Linked DNA regions of Homo sapiens: all the other regions are linked to region 3. Evidence: promoter capture Hi-C in 16 types of primary human blood cells and fetal thymus (Javierre and others, 2016). All regions are on one chromosome and are shown on one strand. The core of a region is centred on a gene start or on the middle of the fragment in contact, and the rest is flanking DNA. Distances in the headings are between cores, read along the strand shown. Region 1 overlaps SLC25A26 (solute carrier family 25 member 26). Region 2 overlaps SLC25A26 (solute carrier family 25 member 26). Region 3 holds the start of PSMD6-AS1 (PSMD6 antisense RNA 1).

Evidence for each region. The method cuts DNA at HindIII sites, captures the fragments that hold promoters and counts their contacts. A CHiCAGO score of 5 or more calls a contact.
Region 1: a fragment that was not itself captured here is called in contact with the fragment with the promoter of PSMD6-AS1 in region 3 in 1 of 17 cell types (total CD8 T cells); the score reaches 5.4 in total CD8 T cells.
Region 2: a fragment that was not itself captured here is called in contact with the fragment with the promoter of PSMD6-AS1 in region 3 in 1 of 17 cell types (total CD8 T cells); the score reaches 5.2 in total CD8 T cells.

Annotation. Positions count from the first base shown.
Region 1 is chr3:66,231,358-66,234,497 of GRCh38, reverse strand. All of the region lies in intron 1 of SLC25A26 (solute carrier family 25 member 26), which reads right to left. Among named protein-coding and RNA genes, the nearest start is that of SLC25A26, 12 kb to the right of the region's middle. The HindIII fragment of the contact is 3,472 bases long and covers 1-3,140 here.
Region 2 is chr3:66,297,224-66,300,467 of GRCh38, reverse strand. The region is part of intron 5 of SLC25A26 (solute carrier family 25 member 26); the gene reads right to left. Among named protein-coding and RNA genes, the nearest start is that of SLC25A26, 78 kb to the right of the region's middle. The HindIII fragment of the contact is 2,408 bases long and covers 393-2,800 here.
Region 3 is chr3:64,010,066-64,013,236 of GRCh38, reverse strand. It overlaps PSMD6-AS1 (PSMD6 antisense RNA 1), which reads right to left and starts at 1,273. Exons shown (of 2, transcript NR_189168.1): 1 at 1,195-1,273. It overlaps PSMD6 (proteasome 26S subunit, non-ATPase 6), which reads left to right. Exons shown (of 8, transcript NM_014814.3): 7 at 2,282-2,359; 8 at 2,473-2,686. The coding sequence ends at 2,569. It overlaps PSMD6-AS2 (PSMD6 antisense RNA 2), which reads right to left. Exons shown (of 3, transcript NR_038286.1): 3 at 994-1,440. The HindIII fragment of the contact is 1,623 bases long and covers 547-2,169 here.

The DNA of each region.
Region 1 (3,140 bases), core at 257-2,756, 2.2 Mb before region 3:
AGTTCTAATCTGCAAATTACCTAAGAAGACGTCACCCAAAAGGGCACAGAGATGTGCCAGTAGAGAAACCAAGTAGTACCAAAAGAATATCCAATAACGTGGGATTTCTTTCTGGATATAAAGGTGGCCTTCCCTAAGTCATGGGAAAAAGTTCACAAGTAATGTAGGAAAGTAAAAAGGCCAATTGTCAAAACTCTTCTTAATTCTTGTTTCAGGATTTTTATAAAATTCAGTAAGTAGAGCCGGGCATGGTGGTATGTACCTGTAATCCCAGCTACCTGGGAGGCTGAGGCAGGAGGATCGCTTGAGCCCAGGAATTTGAGATTACAGTGAGCTATGATTATGCCCATGAATAGCCACCACGCTCCTGCCTGGGCAACACAGGGAGACTCATCTCTAATAATAATTTGGTAGGCAAATATTTTGCATGCCTCCTCGTTTTCTCAAAATACAGAGAGAATAGAACCCTGGCGAAAATGTCTCGTGCGACTAGATTATTTAAAAACATGCTGCACTTCACTCTAATTTTCTCTTTAATCTTAGGAGAGAATTCAGAGAAGTGCTATCTACTGCTAAATTTTAATCAATAATTACTCTTTCAATCTAGTTGGCTACCTTACATGTATTGATTCTCTAACCCTTCTTTCATCACAATTATTATCTTCTGAGGAAAAAAATGACCAGATTCAATTTACTTGTCTGGTAAAACATCACTCAAGGATTACTAAACGCTTCTATCGATTTCAAACTTCTATATAACTCAAATGTCATTTAAATTCATGCGACTGAAAAAAAAGAAAAACAGCTAACAGAGAACCTGAAGAATAAGAATACCTATATATTTATCCACACAACCACATATTTCAGATTTAAACAAAATCCTTAAGGAATGCCTATATCAATATTGTTTTGTATGTAATTATGTAAAAAATATATAAGCCAGTAACAACCTAATTATAAAGAACTCCATCAAACTCTTTTATTCTTTAGCCTGAAAATGTTATTTTGCTATAATCATCTATCAGAAAGTTATCAGGCAAGTGATTCATTTCATAATTTATGGTAGCTTATACCGAAAAGTTCTAACTAGAAAAAAATCCAAAGAAATAGGACATAACCCAGATAACCAGCAAACCTTGCTACAGCATCACAATGTATCGAGACCTCAATATCTTATAGATAAAATACATGTCTCTACCTTAAGTTAATAAACGTATGAAGTGTTGGCAGACTGTAGAGAGGAAGTGCCCAATTAGTGCTCTGCAATTACTCTGAGAAGTTATAGGTCAGAATTACATGCTATAAAACTTTTTTTCTCAAAAGGAGGAGGGCACACCATAAAAACAGCATTGCTGCTCCCCTCTAGGGCAAAACCAAACCATCTGTGTAATGTAACTAAGCAAAATTAATAGAGGCCACTGGCCTAAACGACAGCTAAGAAGAGCCAGCCATAACATTAACATGGCTTCTCAAGGGAAACATTCCCGACAGTCTCGGTTTCCTCCACCATGAAGTTGCCACCCATGACTTGAACCACCATCTTCCTCACTGCAGAACTGCCACCTCTGCTTTCTGACATACCTGTCGTCTTCCCCACTTCCCATTCATTCTCCCTGCAGTGCTCGCTGCCTCTCTGTACTAATCATTTTCATAAAATCCAAATTTCATCTTGCCACTCTCCAGCCTATAAATCTTCCAAACTTTCCAACAGCCCCGAGGATGAAGAAGAAAATCCTAGCACAGCCTTCCAGGCTCTGGAGGTTCTGGAGCCCCTCCAACTCCCAAAACTCGCACTATGTGCCCTTTGTTCAGTCCTTTCTTTCCACCTGGATCTTTTCCTCTAAATCATCTGATCTTCCTCATTTCAAGGAGTTTGTACAGATGCCCCCTAATCTCCAGTTCAGGTTTAGATCTTGTTGTTTCCAAGCACTGAACACAATTTTAATTACATAGTTTTGCCTCTGACCATTTGTTCAGTACCAGTCCAATTAAACCACAAGATCTATATCTGTTTTGTTTACTAATATGTTTCCAGCACCAGCACATATTAATAGGAGGCATTCAATGGCTCTAATAAAGGGTTACTATCTATATTTTAGAAGGCACTACAAATCAACCTTAAAAAGGTACACTGAATTTTTTTCAAAAATAGCAAAAGACAGGACCAGGCAATTCCCAAAAGAAAAATATAAATGACTAACAAAAATATGAAAATATGATTCTCTGTCATTATCAAATAAAAACAAAATGTTTTCCCAATTAGAAAAAAATTAAAAATATGAAGAATGGGTACAGGCACTGTTAACGAAAACATTACCATAATCTACTGGAGGACAATTTGGCAAAATGAACATTTTAAATTATCAAACCTTTGATCCAGTTATTACTAAGCATTTCTTCCACAGAAATAAATGCACAAATATACAAGAATGTCTACTACAGCATTTCTGTAATAATAAAAAATTGAAAACAACCTAAAAGTCCATCCACTGGGGCCCTGTTAAGTAAATTAAGCTATACACAAATAATGAATTGCTACATAGCCTTTAAAACAACAAGGTAGGCTGGGTGCAGTGGCTCATGTCTGTAGTCCTAGCTGCTGGGAGGCTGAGGTGGGATGCTCACTTGGGCCCAGGAGTTTGAGGTTGCAGTAAGCTATGATCACGCCACTGCCCTGCACTCTAGCTTGGGCAACAGAGCAAGATCCTGTCTCTAATCAAAAAAAAAAAAAAAATGAGGTAAACCCATACTTATTGGCACAGAAACATACACTATATTCTTAAATTAATCAAATTAGCTATAAAACAATATATGCTATATAATCCCATCTTTTAAAATGTGTAACTATTTGTATATGCATAATTAGAAGTCTGGAACATAAACAGTAAATTGCTAGAAATTATTGCCTCTGTGGAAAGAGATTCAGGATGAGAAATACTACTGTTAATAATATTTCTTGTTAATTTTTTAACAATTAATTTTTAAATAATTTTTAACAATTTTAAATAACAAGAATTATTAATTTTTTAAACAACCTTGTTAATTTTTTATTTGCTCAAGTTTTGTAATGAATATTACAAATATATAAAAGCTAAGCCATTCAAAATTCATGCTTCCCCTGGGGAAAAAAAAAATCTCTA
Region 2 (3,244 bases), core at 347-2,846, 2.3 Mb before region 3:
AAATATATGCAAAGAACAAGAAATTTTACTTGTGGCTAATTCAATTATTTCCTTTGGAAAAGAATAAAGTTCAAATCATATTGCCAATGTCACTATAACTAAAATCTGACCATTACAAAAGGTCTCCCAAACTGCAGTCAATGGCCTGCTCACTTCAAGTAATATTGGTAATGGCTAAATTCCAGTATAACACCAAAAAAAAAAAAAAAAACAAAACAAAAAAACCCTAGCCTAGAAGTCCACTGGAGTTCACTGTAACGGGATTTAAGCTATAATTAAATTTGATTAGCTTGGTTCAAACCTCAAGTTCAAAAGACTTATCAGCATGAATGGATGAAAAACCCTTTTACACGGGCATTTTGAAAATATGAAAAGGGCTGACACAGCAAGCTTCAAAGACTTTAAAAGCAATTGACCCTTCCCAGAGCAAAGGAGAAACGCTAACAGCTGAAACTCAGATGCTGCGTGCAAAGAAAATAAAGTTCCAGATGGCTCAAAAGCCTGGTAGTTTATTAAATATTAAATACTATTATTTTTAACTGGATTTTTGCCCAGAGATAGCCAAATATGTCACCCATAAAATGTGAAAAAGCAGTATGATACCATCCCCTGAAAAACTGAAGCAAATAAATATTTTCTTTTTCAAAAACTACCCGCATGTGGAAGTTTCTCAAGGAGTTATACAAACAACCATGACAGTCAAACAATCAAGACGTTTAATAAAAAACAAAAACATCTATAACCTAAAAATCCAAATCAGTTTATTTCGAGACATTTAACTGTTACTCTATAAACACACACCTCATGCACACATACCCCCTTGGATCACATTATATTTTCATGCATGAAGAAAGGAGAAAAGTGAAAGAAGCAATAATAAATATGGACTACGGAACTGTGTTAGTGACTGGGGGTTAACATAGTTTTTACAAGTAGTTAAATATTAGTATGAAAGGATTATATATACAAAAGTTTGTTTGCCAAGCACATCGGCTCACACTTATAATCCCAGCATTTTCGGAGGCTGAGGTGAGCAGATCACTTGAGGCCAGGACTTCAAGACCAGCCTGGCCAACACAGCAAAACCCAGTCTCTACTAACACAAAAATTAGCCAGGCATGGTGGCACACATCTGTAGTCCCAGCTACTCGGGAGGCTGAGACATGAGAATCGCTTGGAACCCAGGAGGCGGAGGTTGCAGTGAGTCGAGACTGTGCCACTGCACTCCAGCCTGGGTGACAGAGGGAAACTTTGCCTCAAAAAAAAAGTTTGTTGTATGTATTCTTTTAAATACATACATGGAAATGGGTGCATATACACGCACATCAAATGAACTGTATACATACATATATAAACACACACACAGTAACAAATGTATACATAGGTACGTATTCATGTGTACACACACATACACACACACAAACCAAGGGTCCCTTTTCAACAAAATAAAGTTAGTTAACTAAGTTTACACACTGAGTTTTTAGATGGCACCTTCAAGTGAGTTTTTATGTTAAAATTTTTCCCTTGTTAGCATACTGTTTCTATGTAACTTGGGATCTGGGGGAGGGAAAAGACTGTTTTTCATGAAATAGAAACAACCTATGCCAAATGAAGCAGGTGTGAGATATCTCAAAGATGAAAGCAATTCTCCAAATAGCAACGTCATCCTGTAATGCTTTCTTGACATGTACAATTTTGCTATTCCTCTGACATTTATTACAAAGTACTGTGTTTGTGATCTTTCCTAACACAGATCAGTAGTGTGACTGGTGCTCATTTCTAGCAGCTTTTAGCACTGAGGAAAAAGTCAATTCAACACTGATGTCACTTAAAATGGGTAAGAAATCCAGCTACAGCAGAGGCTGCTGTGCCCCTTAAATGCTCTTTTCTTAAGACACTTTCTTCACAAGCAAATTAATTCTTAATGTAATTCTTTTATTCTGAAAACTGTTTATTACAAATCATCAGTTTTGAAATAATTCAAAGTGATCTCCCACCAAAAAAAGAAAACCCCACAAAGAAATAAATCATATTTACTTTTCTGTCCATTAAAAATATGCTGAAAGTGACACAGATGTACCTCTCAGAAATTTCTCATTATATTAAAACTTATCCACAATTTATGACAAGGAGTTTTACTAGAGAAAATATTAATTTCACCAGCTTAGTAATAATATCCAACATTTCATTTTCCTCCTGATATACCTATCAAATGGTTTTGGTATTTAAGCTCTTCTTTTTTTCAAAACAGAAGAAAATCTGTTAACTGAACTTTGTATCACCTAGTCCAGTGGTTCTCACACTTCAGAATGCATCAGAATCATGCAGAGGGTGTATAACACAAATTCTGGGCCTCACCCCAAGTTTCTGATTCAGAAGATCTCAAGTGGGGACTTAGATTCTGCATTTCTAGCAAGTTCCTAGGGAATGCAGCTGCTATTCGTGGAGGGACTGTACTTTGGGAACCAATGATCTACTCAGTATTTTCCTTCTTTTCATAATTTGCAAATTTGATAACGAGGAAATGATATGCTATATCCTTTAAAGACAGACATCTTTTGAGAACTTAGAATTAAAGAGAAATTGACAAAAAGGAAATCTAATCTAAGGCACAGCACAGCCCTCAAAGATGATCTAGTCTAGGATTCAGAAAACTTTTTCTGTAAAGAGTCAGATAATAAATAGCTTAGGCTTTATGGTCCATACAGTCTCTGTTACAACTACTCAACTCTGCCACTGTTGTGTGAAAGCAGACAGACAATACATAAATGAAAGAAAGTGGCTGCATGCCAATAAAGCTTTATTACAAAAACAGGCTGTGATCTGGATTAGGCCCACAGGTCATAGTTTACCAACTATTTTTTAAAAAAGGAAATCAATACCCAGAGAGATTAAACAACTTCAAAAGGCACAAGATAGCGAGTGGCAAAACTGCAACTAGACCTTCAGTGTCCTGATGTCTGATGTACTAAGGAAGCTACTGTTATAGTAATATTTTGATAAAGAACAGCCACAAATGGAATGCATTACAAAACCTCATGTAGCTTAATGATCAAAAAGAAAAAATGACTTTACTAAGCAAAAGAGCATCTCAGTTCTAGAATTAATGCCAGACATTCTTTTTTTTTTTTTTTTTTTTGAGATGGAGTTTCACTGTTGTTGACCAGGCTGGAGGGCAATGGCACGATCTTGGCTCACTGCAACCTCCACCTCCCGGATTCAAGCAATTCTCCTGCCTCAGCCT
Region 3 (3,171 bases), core at 24-2,523:
ATGGGAAGATGAGTTGTAGTGAGGCTAAGTGATTTGTTAAAGGTCATTAGACCAGTTGTTATCAAAAGTTGTCTTCTGTTACTTCTTTGTAGACCACACTGCAGCTACGGTAATGACTCTTAGATCTGATATTTACAGTTGGTCATATTCCCTCTGATAATTCCTTCCAGTTTTTAGGTTGCTGCTGCAATTCTGGTCAGATTGGTTGTTAAATGTGGGACTTTTAGTACTTGCATCAGTGATTAAACAAATAAATACTTAATGAGCCATTCATTACTATATGTTTGGTATTGTTTTACAGCTCCCTTTTCACACTTTCATTGTAGTAGTAGGGAAGAGATGGCAAGGAAGCAAATAAATATAAAACGTAATTTCACATATAGAAATGAACCTATGGAGATGAGAAAATGCTATCCTTACGTACGGCATGCTTAAGGAGGTGAGGTTTGCTCTGAGATTTGAATTGAGAGGAGTCAGCCATATGGAGTCCTTCTGCGTGCAGAAAAGGGAATAGAAAAGGCTAAGGCTTTGAGCCAGGAATAAGCTTGGATGTTGTAGGAACAGAAAATGTCAGGGTGGCTCCAGCATAGTTGGAGTGGTAGGAGATTTTGAGGATAATATATGGAGAGTTAGGTAGGTAATGATTTGTGTAGGGCCTTGTAGGTCATGGGATGGAGCTTGAGTTTTAAGTAAGTTTGATAGGGAGCCATTGGAAGATTTAGAGCCCAAGTTACATGGTCCTATGCAGTGTCTTTATATAAGAAATAGAGTAAGGTGGCAGAGAGGACCAGTTGTGCTGTTTAGTAGCTCTTAGAGGAGATGTTACCGTGGCGTGGACGAGGGTGGTGAGAGTAGAGTTGGGTAGGAGACATACTCAATATGGGATGTCCAGATGGCATCTAGATCAGTGGCTCCCACATGTAGGTGTTTTTAAATGTTGATGATGGTGTTTTCAATGGTCTGCAGTGGAAACTTTAAATGAAGATGCATTTCTTTTAAATAAGACCATTCTCTTTCTAGTATTTTTTAAATTTCGAACATCCATAAAATTGTAAAGAAAGAATTGTACAGTACATTTTAACATATTTGCTTGTTACAATCTATACATTTTATGTTTTTTAACCACTTCAAAGTAAGTTTCAGACACCAACACATTTTTTAAATGATCCCTACCATTTTTTAAATGATCCCTACCAAAATGGAAGGCTGGTATCCCAAGGTTTTGTTCCATTTCTCAATTCTAGTCTGTGAAATTGAAGTCTGATGACCACTCTTAAGAGGGCTGTTCATTAGGGTGCGGGCTGGGCATTATGAGTGTGTTTTTCATGAGTCAGTGGAAGGAGGGGCTTGTTGTGAGCAGTGCATGAGAAAAACGGCTTGGCTTTGCTTCTTTTTCCAGCTCTGTGGCCTTGGTCAGGTTACGTCTCTTCAGTATCGTAACTGTAATGTGGAGATAAAGCCTTCATTAGTTAGGGGCACACACCGCAGTATTCCTTAAGTCATCTTGATGACAAGTGAATGCAAGGCAGCTGGTACCTTTCAGGTAGTAGTTGAATTCAGGTAGTATTTGTTCAGTTTTTTTTTTTTCCCTTCATGTTCTAAGACCAGCTTGAGAGGCAAAGGTTGTACCACTGAGCTCTAGTTGTTGTTACCTAAAAAGGCCTTGTTTTAAATTTCTGTGATACCTAAGAATTTCAAATCTGGGTTGTCATGGATTCTTTATTCTTTTTTTCTCCCTTAAAAAGTTACATTTTAGATGAAATCCCCTTTTTTAAAATGGGCAAAGCAATAATTCTACATCATTTCTCCCCTTCCCTTCCACTTGTTTAGACTAAGATATGTTAGAGAGGGAAAGGGTCGTTGTTTTAGTAAATACTATTGCTGTTGACATGTTAATACTATTGCTGTTGACATGTTTACTGATGGGCTGTGTTCCATAATTTTGTTTTAGGTCTTTTGTTTGAAACAGTTTACTGTTTTTATCAGTTTTGGTCCCTAATTTTTCCTAACCTACAGTTTTTCTCTGAGTACATATGGTTTCATTGTTTGATCTACTTTCTATCTATCTGAATATGAACTTCTAGGATCATGTTTATTCTAGTAGATGATGACTTAAAGCCTGCAGTATAGGAGGGACAACGTCAACTACTGCATGTGCAATAACAAGCTTGAAGGGAAGCTAAATGTTTGTTACAAATTTAAGACAGTATTTTAATGCCGTTTGCATTTTTCTAAGAATTTTCTATAAAGCTAATTCTGTTATTTTTTGTCTCTAAATTAGGGAACTGTCCAGGTTTATTGCTGCCGGGAGACTACACTGCAAAATAGATAAAGTGAATGAAATAGTAGAAACCAACAGGTACTCTCATTTCTCAGAATAAGGGGCATTCCTAAATTTTAAAAGTAGGTCAACTATTGTCATGGAATAATGTGACTGGTAAATAATTCATTTTTTCTTGAATTTATTTATAGACCTGATAGCAAGAACTGGCAGTACCAAGAAACTATCAAGAAAGGAGATCTGCTACTAAACAGAGTTCAAAAACTTTCCAGAGTAATTAATATGTAAAGCCATGTAACTAACAAAGGATTTGCTTTAGAGATAATTATTTGGAATTTTTATAGCTTACTTCACAATGTGCCCAGGTCAGCTGTATAAAATAAATACTGCATTGTTGTTTCTTTCCATTTATTTTTTTCTTAAACACATAGGCCTTCTAGAATCGGGTCCACTTATGTTAAAATAATGTCACTTGAATTATTCATTAATGAAAATCTGGTTTATAGGGTAAGGTTGCAGCTGGGTTCAGCTAGGTTCAGCTCCTGACTGCCTCATCAGTAAAATACGTCAGTAAAATACGGATGTTGACACAGCCCATTATCGCTTACCTTTAAATCTCTTACCTGTAAGCTTCCCGATTTTAGAAAGAAGAGTAGTGGCCTAAAATTAAACAAACAGTGTCTCCCACTTTTAGTATACAAAAGATAGAAGATAAAGAAAATGTGTAATAAGCTTTCCCTCAGAAACAAGTAACCATATAAGGCAGGAAGTTACTCTTTTTTAGGAAGCTGACATAACCTGGATTACAGAATCTACCAAGGCTGATCTCAGTTTTCTAAAACCTTATATGTAAGTATTTATTAGCAAACTGAATCTTTTTTCCAAAAGTA